Regions from separate parts of the Homo sapiens genome. Here all the other regions are linked to region 3. Evidence: promoter capture Hi-C in human tissues and cell types (Jung and others, 2019). All regions are on one chromosome and are shown on one strand. Each heading gives the region's core, a stretch centred on a gene start or on the middle of the fragment in contact. The rest is flanking DNA. Distances are from core to core; before and after follow the strand shown.

Evidence for each region. Contacts are between HindIII fragments. The study calls those that stand out against the background at their distance.
Region 1: a contact is called between a fragment that was not itself captured here and the fragment with the promoter of GFRA1 in region 3, in 3 of the 25 tissues and cell types used here (H1 embryonic stem cells, liver and neural progenitor cells).
Region 2: a fragment that was not itself captured here is called in contact with the fragment with the promoter of GFRA1 in region 3 in 2 of the 25 tissues and cell types used here (mesendoderm cells and spleen).

The regions. Positions count from the first base shown.
Region 1 is chr10:116,218,741-116,222,740 of GRCh38, forward strand. All of the region lies in intron 4 of GFRA1 (GDNF family receptor alpha 1), which reads right to left. Among named protein-coding and RNA genes, the nearest start is that of SNORD158, 26 kb to the left of the region's middle. The HindIII fragment of the contact is 5,209 bases long and covers 1-4,000 here.
Region 2 is chr10:116,305,590-116,309,760 of GRCh38, forward strand. No RefSeq gene overlaps it. Among named protein-coding and RNA genes, the nearest start is that of CCDC172, 17 kb to the right of the region's middle. The HindIII fragment of the contact is 4,206 bases long and covers 127-4,171 here.
Region 3 is chr10:116,271,769-116,276,083 of GRCh38, forward strand. GFRA1 (GDNF family receptor alpha 1) reads right to left here and starts at 1,438. Exons shown (of 11, transcript NM_005264.8): 1 at 1,395-1,438; 2 at 222-507. The coding sequence starts at 261. LOC107984273 (a long non-coding RNA gene) reads left to right here and starts at 2,241. Exons shown (of 2, transcript XR_001747598.2): 1 at 2,241-4,315. RefSeq lists an enhancer at 1,603-2,440 and a silencer at 1,649-1,943. The HindIII fragment of the contact is 12,805 bases long and covers 1-4,315 here.

The sequences.
Region 1 (4,000 bases), core at 1,206-3,705, 52 kb before region 3:
ACCGGAAGGCCTCACTCCGCATCTCCAGCCTTCTAAGCCAAAAATGACAACCGCTCTTTAATGCTGCAAGATCTTTTATCTCACTCTGCCTTTTCTTCTCTACCTGGGTTTGGATGTAGGCCGGAGAAAGTTCTCTCGTTTTCATTGCTGCTGGCCTCCCTTCACCTTTTATCATATTAGAAATGAAGACCAATACTTTGCCTGTCACTGTTGTACCTCTGAAGGCACACAGTGCTCACTAAATGTCTTTTATTTGTGGATAAGAAAAAAATAAAAAAAAAAGCCTCAAAGAATCTTCCTGCTACATTTACTAGGGAATGTGCTACCAACATCAATCTTGGGCTGTGTGCTTATAACCCATCGGCCTGCGCTGACTTGGAAAAGCAATGCAAGAGACATGAGCTGGTGAGCCCCTATCATTTTTATGACATCCTATCCCTAGTATATCTCATTCCTAGCACAGAGGGATAAAGCTCTTAACTACTGAAAGAACATAAAAAAATAGATTTAGGAATAATACTTTTTATGATTGCATTCTGTATACTATGAAAGTTATGTCCGAGTCTGCTAGTACTTTATAGAGCTGATAAAGTAGAACAGTATGGCTTCCCAGCTCACAGTGTATTTTATATCCATTTAAAATGTTTTCTCTTAAATTGAATTACTTTTTGAGTAATTATAATAAGACTAATCTGGGCTTAATGAATTCATGTACAAATATTTTAGATTGCATTATTAAAATCTCTATGATATGAAACTATATTAAAATCGATCCCTCTAGCAACCAGTGTTTTCCTTTGAAAAGAGCCGCATACATGACCTTCTCGGAATTCTTTTGAATCAGCTGAGAAATCAGAAGAAGCCACATTAAGAGCCTAAACAAAAGAAGCTGACAAGTAACATTGCTTTAATTTTCCTAAACTTCTATCATTGGATATTAATTGGAGTATTAATTAGGAGTCACAAAAAGTATTTGTATTAAGCATCCATATATGCAAAGGGCTGAAGAGATGGTCCATCTTCCAGAAGAAATTACGTTATAGCTGTGATTAGCAATGACGTAACACTACTACTGGTAAAATACTAAAAGTGAGCCCCTGGATATCAAGCTTTACATTTTAAAAAGTCTCCAAACACAGTTGTCTAAACATCTGGATTCTAGTTTGCAGTGCAGGCAAAGCCATTCACCTTCCCTGGGATTCCGTTCTTCCATTTGCAAAATGATTTCTACTAGATGATCTCTAAGGTCCCTTCCAGTTCTAAAGCACGATGTTTTTAAGTTTAAAATTACACACATTGTATCAAATGGACTCTTACTGCACATAGCTTATTTGTAATCTTATGCATGCTAAATTACATTCACAAAAAAATTTCATTCTTTGCAATTCACATACATCCACAAACACATCCATAATACAGCCTGTGATTTCAAATTTATTCCAAGATATTATCTCAGTTTTAAAGTATTTTTCCCATTACAGATAAATTATAAGCCATCTGAAATCTTTAAGTTTCTATTACCTTTTTGAATCAAGTTTTAATCCCCCAACGCACCCACCCAACATACACTTCCTGAAAGATGCTTTTTCATCTCCATTTCCAAGTCAAATGATACATTTTATCACACATGTATTCCTCAGCCAGCTCTGTGTGATCCAGGTTTTAATCAGGTTGGTTACCCAGTTTCCAAAATTCAAACTGGATGTTTACAAATGTCCAGCAGAATAAATCTCTCTCTTTACCAGGTGATCATTATCAGGATGGACAACTTCAAAGTAAACAGAAGACAATGATAATGATCATTACTTGATGCTTGCCACAAATAACCATCAGGACAGCTCCCAGGAGTCAGAGACAATTCAAGCTTGAATTCTAAGAAGCTGTTCTAAAATCAAGCATTGTTGATCATCATGAAATGGGCCCAAGGCTTCTAGGAGGAGCTTTGATGATGTAATACACTCTAGCTTGACCTCAGTTTTAGGAGGTACAGGTTCTGGCCTGGCTCTGCTATAAATCACCTGAAGGAACTTAAACAAATCATTTAAGCACTTTGGGTTTCAAAGGAGCGATTGACAAGAAAATAGCTGCAATCTTTTCCAGTTCTAAAACTATAATGAACACTACCAGGACCTTTCATTAGAACTCCCTGCTATATGCTCCCAAATCAACTGTACATCTCCTTGGTGCCCTAACATACACCTGTTATTTTCTTTCTCTCTCTTTCTCTCTAACTAAGCTGAAAGGACCATGATGTCAGGGACATTCTGTCCACTGTAGTCCCAAAGCCCAGGGCAGAATATTAGAGCATAAAAGATACTTATTAATATTAATAATAACTAATATGCTTTCAGAGTTTTCTGTACATCAGGCACTATTTTAAATACTTTACATAGACTGCCTGAATCCTCTCAGTCACCCTAAAAGGTAGCTATTCTCATTATCTTCATTTTACAGATAAAGAAACACAGGCCCACAAAGGTTAACTAAAGCTGCCAAAGGTCAAAGGGAAGCAAGTGAGCTGGAATTCAACCCAAGCAGTCTGGCTTCAGAATCCAAACTCTTAACCACTTTGCTACACTGTCTCTCAATGAATACACCATTGATAGACGTGTGGAAGGAAGAAGGAACAAATAAATATGCCTCGTCCCTTCTAAGACACCCCAGAGAGAGAAGAGAATTCACGTTCATACTACCTTTTTTTAAAGACAGAGTCTCACTCTGTTGCCTAGGCTGGAGTGCAGGGGTGCGATCTCGGCTCACTGCAACCTCTCTCTCCCAGGTTCAAGCAATTCTCATGTCTCAGCCTCCCAAGTAGCTGGCATTACAGGCAGGTGCCACCACGGCCAGCTAATTTTTGTGATTTTAGCAGAGATGTGGTTTCACTGTGTTGGCCAGGCTGGTCTCAAACTCCTGACCTCAGGTGATCTGCCCACCCTGGCCTCTCAAAGTGCTGGGATTACAGGCGTGAATCACCGCACCTGGTCTGTGTTCATAATACTTTTAATATAATAATCCCCATGTTTCTAGATCCCCAGCCACATTTTTTTCTGTAACTTTTCTATCTGTGGATTTTGGGTCCAATTGCAGAGACTGCCTAGATACACATTAACTTTTTTAAAACTTTACAAATTCTCTTTCTAAAATATTGCAACTGTTTCAATAGGTTTATGGCAATTGTTAAGGTAAGGTAAGGACATGGGGAAAGGACGTCCTGCTGGATTAAAAAATGAGAATTCCAAGAAGAGAGTAAGGAAGGGGAGAACAATACAATACAAGGAAATATGACTGAGCTGCAAAGATCTATGCAGCTGCCCTGATCCAGGGCCATCCTACTTGGGTTTATGAAAAGGATGGTATGAGAGGCGGTAGAAGGGGAAAGAGCCAGGTGGGAGGTAATGCAGTGCAGGCAATGCACATATGGGTGCAGCAGCCAGAGGGCTTTCTTTTCTTCTTTATTTATTTATTTATTTATTTTGGAGATAAAGTCTTGCCCTGTCGCCCAGGCTGGAGTGCAGCAGCGTGATCTCGGCTCACTGCAACCTCCGTCTTCTAGGTTCAAGCTATTCTCCTGCCTCAGCCTCCAAAGTAGCTGAGATTACAGGTGCCCGCCACCACACCTGGCTAATTTTTGTATTTTTAGTAGAGAGGGGATTTTGCCATGCTGGCCAGGCTGGTCAGGAACTCCTGACCTCAGGTGATCCGCCCCCTTCAGGCTCCCAAAGTGCTGGGATTACAGGCGTGAACCACCGTTCCCAGTCATGGATTGCATTTTGATCCTGGCTCTGCCACTGGGAAAGCAATCTTTCTGCTCTAAGCCTCAACATCTCCGTTTGATTGAGTGGGGCAACAGTGATATGGGGCTGTTGTGAAGATTACAGGAAATCAAGCTAATAAAGACTTCACACAGCGCCTGACACATAGAAGGCACTTCACAGAAGCAGGCAATTAGACAGAGATTTATAAGAAATCAAGTTGCAGGATATCATCAAGATCAACCAAA
Region 2 (4,171 bases), core at 980-3,479, 35 kb after region 3:
CAGATCACCATCACAGATATAATAATTTGAAAGTTTGATATATTGCAAGAATTACCAAAATATGACACAGAGGCATGAAGTGAGCCTGTGGTGTTGGAAAAATGACACCAGTAGAATTGCTTAATGCAGGGTTGCCACAAACCTTCATTTTGTAAAAAGCACAATATCTGGGAAACCCAGTAAAGTGAAGTGCAGTACAACAACATATGCCTGACAAAAAATTGTTCCAGCTTTGGTATTAACCACAGAGCAGACGTTATCTCAAGATTGTAATCGGATACCATTGATCCCATCTTCACCATCTTTGTTCCTTCACCAAAATGTTGATATTAACATGATTTGGAGACTGTTATTATGACATTGATCCATGTTGGATACCATCCAAGGTCCAAGGAATGACTGCCAGTGCTTTTGACCCTCCTGTTATTTACAGAGAATAAAAGCGGGGGAGGCATTGGTCTCCCTTCCCTGAAAACCTTGGCCATTTGGCAGTACAAGAGTTTGATTGTTAAGAGAAAAGGAAGGAGTCCTAATATGATGTTAACACTTGGTCCAAAAGGCCATGATACAGACCTTTTCCCTACCCCATGGCAAAACTTCTGGTATCTGAAAATATACCTCAGATATAACACATCATCTTATGGGCATTAAGTTTGAGAATTAGCTAATGTTTGACATTGGCCTTGAGTTTTGTATTCTCTTTATAAGTAGAAGGAAGTCTAAGCTTCCTGCTGAACTGTAGTGTGGGTAACAGTGGTGGTGTCTATAGTTCAAAAATAAGTATGAACATTCCCTTTATGTTGCACATAAGAAGTAAGTACATAATTCAGTGTTGCATGTCCTTAAACTATATTTGCCCATTGGGCTTTTGACTTGGAATTTATTTATTACAAATGAGCTAACATATGAATTTAGGTAGAAACAGGAGTCATGACAATTTTCCGTAAGCTGCCTAGTAAATAAACGTTCTCGTACCTTATTTTTATAGCAAATTCTTCCAAAATATTCATAATTTATCTCATTTACTGTACAAGGAATAAGGTATGCATGATTAGAGATATAAAATTAAAATAAATACTTGGAAGGAAGCACTTAGGACTGTATACACTGTGGGCAGAATTCCCCATGACTTTGTTCACATACCTGCCATTTAAATTCACTCTTTGCTGGATATGTACACTAAAGGGATGTGTTGACTATGAGTTACTGAAACATCTGAATGGTTGCAAAATATGGATCCTTCTATTTATCTATCATTCCAAATGAACATTAAGCATAAAGGAAGTTATAGTTTAGAAAAAGAGCAGCATGAAGTTGGAATAATAGAATGAGTCACATTATGATTTGTATTCACAATGAAATTTGAGGAAAAATATTTGGCTGGAAAATCATAAAAGATATGTTCAATTTTACAAAATCAAGTAAGGATGACTATGCACAATGGGTAAAACCCGTGATTTCTATTCATAGTTAAATACTGGTTTCTTAGGTCAATTTTCCATGTGACATTACAATAGTCTTTGGCTATGATTACACTGAGTTCTCATCTTCCTTAAAATCGTGAAATTGAGGGAATTTTTCTAAATGGACAAAGATGCTATATATTTTTAGGCTTCTCATTTCAGAAAAGGCCCATTATAAAGTGGGGGCTTTTGAGTCTAGAGCCAGTTCTGTCACTTCTGCGTTTGAGCAAATTAGAACTTCAGTTTCCTGATTTGTAAAATAGTGACACGCACTCATGGTCTGCCCCTATGATGGCCAACAGTTTAGCAGAATGCTAGCCTAGACCTGAATCCCACATTTTGGAACTTTTGGCCAGAGGGAAGCTAAATGGCCTGTGACCAAGGCCTCAGTAGCAGCCTAAACAGAAATCCAGACCAGGGTTTGAAAAACAAATCGTATTTTGCAGAACATCATTGATCCAAACATGGTTAAGGATGCTTCATGAAATAAAGGGCTTTGTGGCCAAATAAATTTGGGAAGATCGTATTAAATGGAATGAATCAGGTTTCTTTATTGCAGGATGTCTCAGAACCTTTAATAAACCAATGTGCTTTGTGAGTCCCCAGGGGGACTAAAGAATGCAGTTTCCCAACTTGTTTTCACACGGAATCACTGTTTTTGTTTTTAAAGAAAATATGAAAATCTTGAGGAATATTAGGCGTTCTTTAAGCCACATCTAGGAAAATCTTTCTTTATGTAATTTTTCTGAAGTTCAGATATTTTAGCCTGGCACATTTTTCATAACAGGGTGGTAAAGAACCACAGTTATTCAATAAAATACTCTTTGGGAAGGGGATTTCTTAGAATTTTACATCCTTCACTGGAAGATCGTGGGGTTGTCTTCACTGATAACGAGTTAATTATGGCTTGTCAGTGATTTAACATTTTCCAAGCCGTAGAGATTGATGTAGACATAGAACAACATGGAACGTGGAAATTGGACTTAAGTGTGATCTTTTGGGAACCCAGTTGCACAATTTAGAGGTGATAAGAATTTCTTTTTTATGAATTAAAACAAAATTGTTAACTGCAGAGCAGAAGTCAGGTCAGACAGATCTACTGCTCCTGAGAATGTGCTGATTGTGGTTTGTATTTTACGGTAGCTGAAGAGTTTGAGTTGCTTGCTAATGACATCAAGCAACATTACATATATTATTAGTATCTTCAGATGCTGCAGTTCTATTTTGAAACATCTTTATGCTACATTTGTTCAAAGCATTGTCTTTCTGTGAAAAGACTTCACCTGTGAATTAATTTTTCATTATAAATAAACTATTGATAGTCTTAAAAAGTATTTCTACATATCTCTTTGTTGGAATTTGGAAGATATGCATTTTCTTTGAGTTCTATTTCTTCTGAAAACTAGTTGTTGACAAATACAACTGTCACAGTGATTGTAGGACTGAATGATCCTGTTGATTTCCTAATTTGTTGTTTGAATTGTAATGCCTCAAAATAAGAGCAGCCTCTTTATAACATTTTGTTATCTTATACTGTTTGGAAGATAAATTGTCTTAAGTGGAGTGGTTGCTGAAATTCTTTGTAGAACTGAAGTTTTAAATTCAAGGTCTATATTTGAGAAAATGTAGGTGGCAGGAATTTCTCTTTTTGAGGGAGGTGTTTCTAATCCAGGTAGCATAAAATTCTGGAGTTAAGTCTGATGTAAAAAAGATAAGATAAAGGAGATGAATTTCCAAGTCAAAAAGAGAGCTGGAATGCATATTAAAAAGAGTACAAGGAGTGCAAGTATTGCTGGAAGATACTGATCTCATTTCCTTTGGATATATACCCAGAAGTGGAATTGCTGGATCATATGGTAGTCCTATTTTTAATTTTTTGAGGATCCATCCATGCTGTTTTCCATAATGTCTGTACCGATTTACAATATGTTCTTTGCAGTATTATTCACAATATTCAAGACATGAAAACAACCTAAGTGTCCATCAACGGATGAATGGGTAAAGAATATACACAAATGGAATATTATTCAGTCTTAAAAAGGAGGAAATCTTACCATTTGTGTCAATATGCACGAATCTGAAGGACATTATGTTAAGTGAAATAAGCCAAAGGTAGAAAAACAAATAACACATGATCTTACTTATATATGGAATCTAAAAAAGTCAAAATCATAAAAACACAATAGAATGGTAGTTGCCAGTTGGCTGGGCATTTCAGAAATGGAAGATGATAGTCAAAGGGTACACAATTTCAGTTGTGCAGGATGAATAAATTCGGGAGATCTAATGTGCAGCATAGTGACTATAGTTAATAACACTGTATTACATACTTAATATTTGCTTTGAGGGTAGATCTTAAGTGTTCAGACCACACATATGCAAAAGGTGCCTATGGAAAGTGATGGATATGTCAATAAGCTTGATTGTGGTAATCACATCACATTATCAAATGTGAACATAATTCACCTTAAATATATACAATTTTTATTTGTCTAATATATGCCAATAAAGCTGGGGAAAAAGAGTGAAGGATTTAGGTTCAGATTCACCATGAAGCCTTGGGGAAATCATGCAGGCGGCTGTCCAGGTGTCAATTTCTTCATTTATAAAATGAAGAAAATAGACATCAGTAAACTGTGAGATAAAACATCTTTCATTAGAAATTTGGTATAGAAGGAAAGAACAAAAAGAAAAAATATGGACTCTAG
Region 3 (4,315 bases), core at 188-2,687:
CAGGAAATCAAAACCAAGCCCGAAAAGCTTCAGGCAGCGCCGCGCCGCCACCGCCTCCCTAACCCGGGGATTCGCGATCCCATTCCCCAAAAAGACACTTCTTCCTTCCACATCCACCACACCCGCGCCCCAATTTTGGTGCGGAGGGCGGGGTGGGCTGCTGCAAGCGACCCTAGGAAAGACTCAGAGGGTAAGAAAGCCCGCGGCGGGCCTCGACTTACCCAAGAGCGGCAGCGCGAAGTACAGGGTCGCCAGGAACATGGTGCCGGCGCGGGGCTGGTCCCCGCCCCCCCAAAAAAATCCCGAGCCGCCGCTGGGTCTTGCCGAGGGAGCTCAGCGTGCAGCGATCCCCGGACAGCTGTGCTGCTCTGGCCGCCCAAAGTTCAGCTCCATCCAGTGAAAGAGGAAACTCCGGGTCTGGCAGCAGCCACCGCCGCCGGCGACTCAGCTCCGGGATGGCGAGGGCGGGAGGCGGTTCCGCTTTTAGGGGTTCAGGTCCGACCCAACCTGGAAGGGAGGGCGCGCTTTGAGATGAGAGCGGAGAGCGCCGGAGACTCCCCCCACAGAACCCTCTCCCCTCCCCCGTTCCCGCCTTTGGGGAATTTCCAACACCGGGGTGAGGACCCACCCCCACCCAGGTCGGGGTGCATGTGCGTGTTTTCCAGGGGCCGCTGACACGGGGATGGAGGTGAGGGCTGGAGAGGTCTGAAGAGGGTTCCTAAAGTCCAAGGGGGTGTCTGTTGGGTTCAACCCGAGACGCTGAACGCAAGCAAATAAATAAATAAACGGTACTTTCCGAGCGTCGCGAGCGGAGCCTGCAGCTGCCTGGAGTCCGAGCCCTCGGTGGCGGCGGCGGCAGCTCCCTAGCCAGCCCTGGCGCCGAAAGAGCCCCTTCTCCCGGGAAGTTGGCCTCCCCCTCCTCGCGTCAGCCAGCGAGCTCGCTCAGCCGCCGGCCCTCCCCACTCCGATCGCCAATCCCTAGCCCCAGTCGCCGCCCTCCTTCTCCCCGGGACTCGTCTCCCTCCAGAGGCCGCCAAGCCAGGGGGAACCGATGTCCCGACTGGGGCTGAAACCCGGTTCCTGCGCCCCTACCCCCTACCCGCCGCGCGTCCTCGGCTCCCTCCTGGGCGTCCGCTCCTCTCACACTCTCGCCCGGTGCCCAGGACTCGGGCGCTTCCGCACCCCAGCCCAGGGCGAGCGCGCCGGCCCGCAGTCCCGGCGTGCCCCGGCAGGTGCAGCCCGGCGCCACGAGCGCCCCCCGGGCCCTAAAGTTGGGAGACGCCAGCAAAAAGAAAGGGGTGGCCGGAGGAGGGGGGAAGAAGGAGTGGGGAAGAGGGACGGGAAGCGGCAATGGGTTCCCAAACAGAACGAAAAAAACTCCAAATGCCACCAACCTGGACTCAACCGACCGCGTCCAGCTGCGGCGAGGAGCCAGTTTGTTTATTTACTTATTTATTCTTTCAGGGCAATGGTGTCCCCGCCCCCTCCTTCCCTTTCCGGGCTCACTTTATCTGCGCTAGGAAAAGAAAAAAAAGAAAAAAAAATAGATGCGGTAATCTTCGAGAGCTCGAAGGGCCGAGTTGGGCCAGGACGATTTCCGAGCAGAGCCCTCGGCTCGGATGCTCGTTAGGGATGTTAGTGGTTATTGGAAGCGGCGCGGAGAATGGCGTGTTCCGAGGCCAGATTTCTTCTGGCCAGAGGACCCTCGGCCTGCTCCTGTTCCCGCCGCTCCGCAGCTCCAGCTCCCTCCTAAGCTCGCCCGCCAGGCAGCCGCAGCTGCACACGCCCGCTTGCGGTGGGACCCGCGGCCGGACCCGTACTCGCGCACAGGACACGCAGTGTTCTGCAGCCGGCCGCGGGTGCTGCCAGACACACACACTCTCTCTCTCTCTCTCTCTCTCTGTCTCTCTCTCTCTCTCTCTCTCTCACACACACACACAGACACACACACACACATACACGGGCACAAGGGCTCTTTCTTCTTAGGGCAATCGAGCCAGACCCTTCTTCGGAACACAAAGTTTTCCCCCACGTCACTAGTGGCTGTGATTCAAGACTTGGTGCTTTCAAGACACACTCAGACCCAGGACGCTGGAGCGGCGATCCTGGGATGCGCCCATCCGTTCGTCCACGCCAGCGCGTGCACACTCACACTCACACGCACACATGCACACGCAGTCTCTACCTCTCTCCTGGAGCTCCGACAAGGAGACAAAAGCGGAGCCCCCAGCCCACTGCATTTAAACCCGGCCAGACCTGGCTTTAGAAAATTTATAAGCTGACCTCCATTTTGGCTGTTTCGAGAGTAAATTAACAACAACAAAAAAAGCCTAACATGTACACAGCCCTTCGCCCCAACCCCTGGGACCGCTGGTTCCCAGTCGTGCTGCTCACCCCCCGCCCCCCACGCCTGACACACGCTCCCCTTCCCGCACGCCGGGGGGCGCCCGGGGCACCGAAGTCTACACTGGGTCGGGAGACCGGTCTAGGAGCCAGCCGGCAGTGCTCGGGATCTTTGCTGATGTCCAAGTTCATCTCTCGGGGAGACCGAGTTTGAATCAAATCTGCGTGCGCCCAGCTGTCAAATCTGCAAACCTATCACGCCAGACAATGGGCCGCCGCGGAGGACAGACAAGAATGGCTCATTTTGATCGAGGGGGGTAAATTGAAAAGGGCACGGGCTTTGGTTGAAGTTTGAGGCCCGGGTGTCAGGGCGGGGAGAAGAAGAGGAGGAAGGAGGAGGGTTGGGCCGCTCTCCATTCAACCACACATCAGCCAGGCGCGCCCCTCGGCTGCAGCGGCTGCTTGCAGGCGGGCTGCATATTGTGTGGAGTCGCCAAAGAGGGTCTGCGCCTCGGGGCGCGCCCCAAACCCGGGGGACATCCTACGGATCCGCACTTCTCTTGTGCTGTACGCGTGTTCCTCCAGGGTAAGTATGAGGAGACGGACGCCCTCATCAGACACCCCTCCTCCAACACACACACACCCATAGCCACATCATTCAGGGATACTCTAGTTCAGTGTATCAGTTTACACTTGGTTGTTGAGTAAACAAAGCAAACATATGTCACATTTTCGCGACAGATGGTTCAAACCAAGGGCTACTTAAGTTCTCTCTCTCTAACAGTCTAAGTTACAGGCTGAACTAAGCAGAAATGTAATTAAGTCATCTGATCAGTTTCTTCGACTTAAAATGTTTTCCCATATTTTCACAAACAAGCCAGATAAATCCTGGGGATGTGGTTTCAAGGAAAGGAGGGCTGAATATGAACTAAGACTTTGTGTGAAGACTCCGTTTCTCCCCGGTCACCCCAAACAGAAAATCCTCTTTCATTGTTCCATTTCGTAAGTGGAGGAGAATGTCTTCTTTTGGAAAATCAGTAATTGGAATTTCAATTTTCAATAGAGGGACTAGTGCTTACCGGTGCTGATTACTTGGGATAGTTGGATTACAATGAGGTTTAAGACATCATCCACATCTTTTGTAAATGTTCTTTGTTTAGAAATGACTTCATGTTACCCTATATATTCCACGGAATTCTTTTGAATCAAATTTTAACAGGGTGGGGGAAGGGTGAACTAAAAGCTCTCCCAGTGTAGAATATGGGACTTCTTTTTAAAATACAGATGATCTCCAACTTATGATGCTTCTACTTATATTTTTAGACTTTACCATGGTGCAAAAGCCATATACATTCAGTAGAAACTGTATTTTGACTATGGACCATACAATCATTCTATTTTTCACTGTCAGGTTAGTATTGAATAAGTTTCATGAGATAGTCAACACTTTACTATAAAATAGCTTTGTGTTAGATAATTTTCCCCAACTGCCGGCTAATGTAAGTGTTTTGAGCATGTTTAAGGTAGGCTAGGCTAGGCTGTGATGCTTGGTAGTTTAAGTGTATTAAATGCATTTTCAACCTATGATGTTCTCAACTTTTGATGAGTTTATCAGAGCATAAGCCTCATTGGAAGTCAAGGATCATCTGTATTTTTAGCTTCAATAATGTATTTCTGAACCATTCACTCACACTTGTCCTTATTAAGTTTGTGCTGCTGATGAATACAGAGCTTTGTTTTTAAAAAGGTAACAATAAACCCCCAGAGGCTGTAACTGTGTTGTCCAATACAATAGTCACTAGCCATGTGGCTATGTCAATGAAATTAATTAAAATTAAATAAAAGAAAAATGCAGTTCCTCAGTAGCATTAACCATATTTCAAGTGCTCAATAGCTACATGTGGCTGGTGGCTACCATATTGGACAACACAGATATAGATCATTTCCATCATTGCAGCAAGCTCTACTGGAC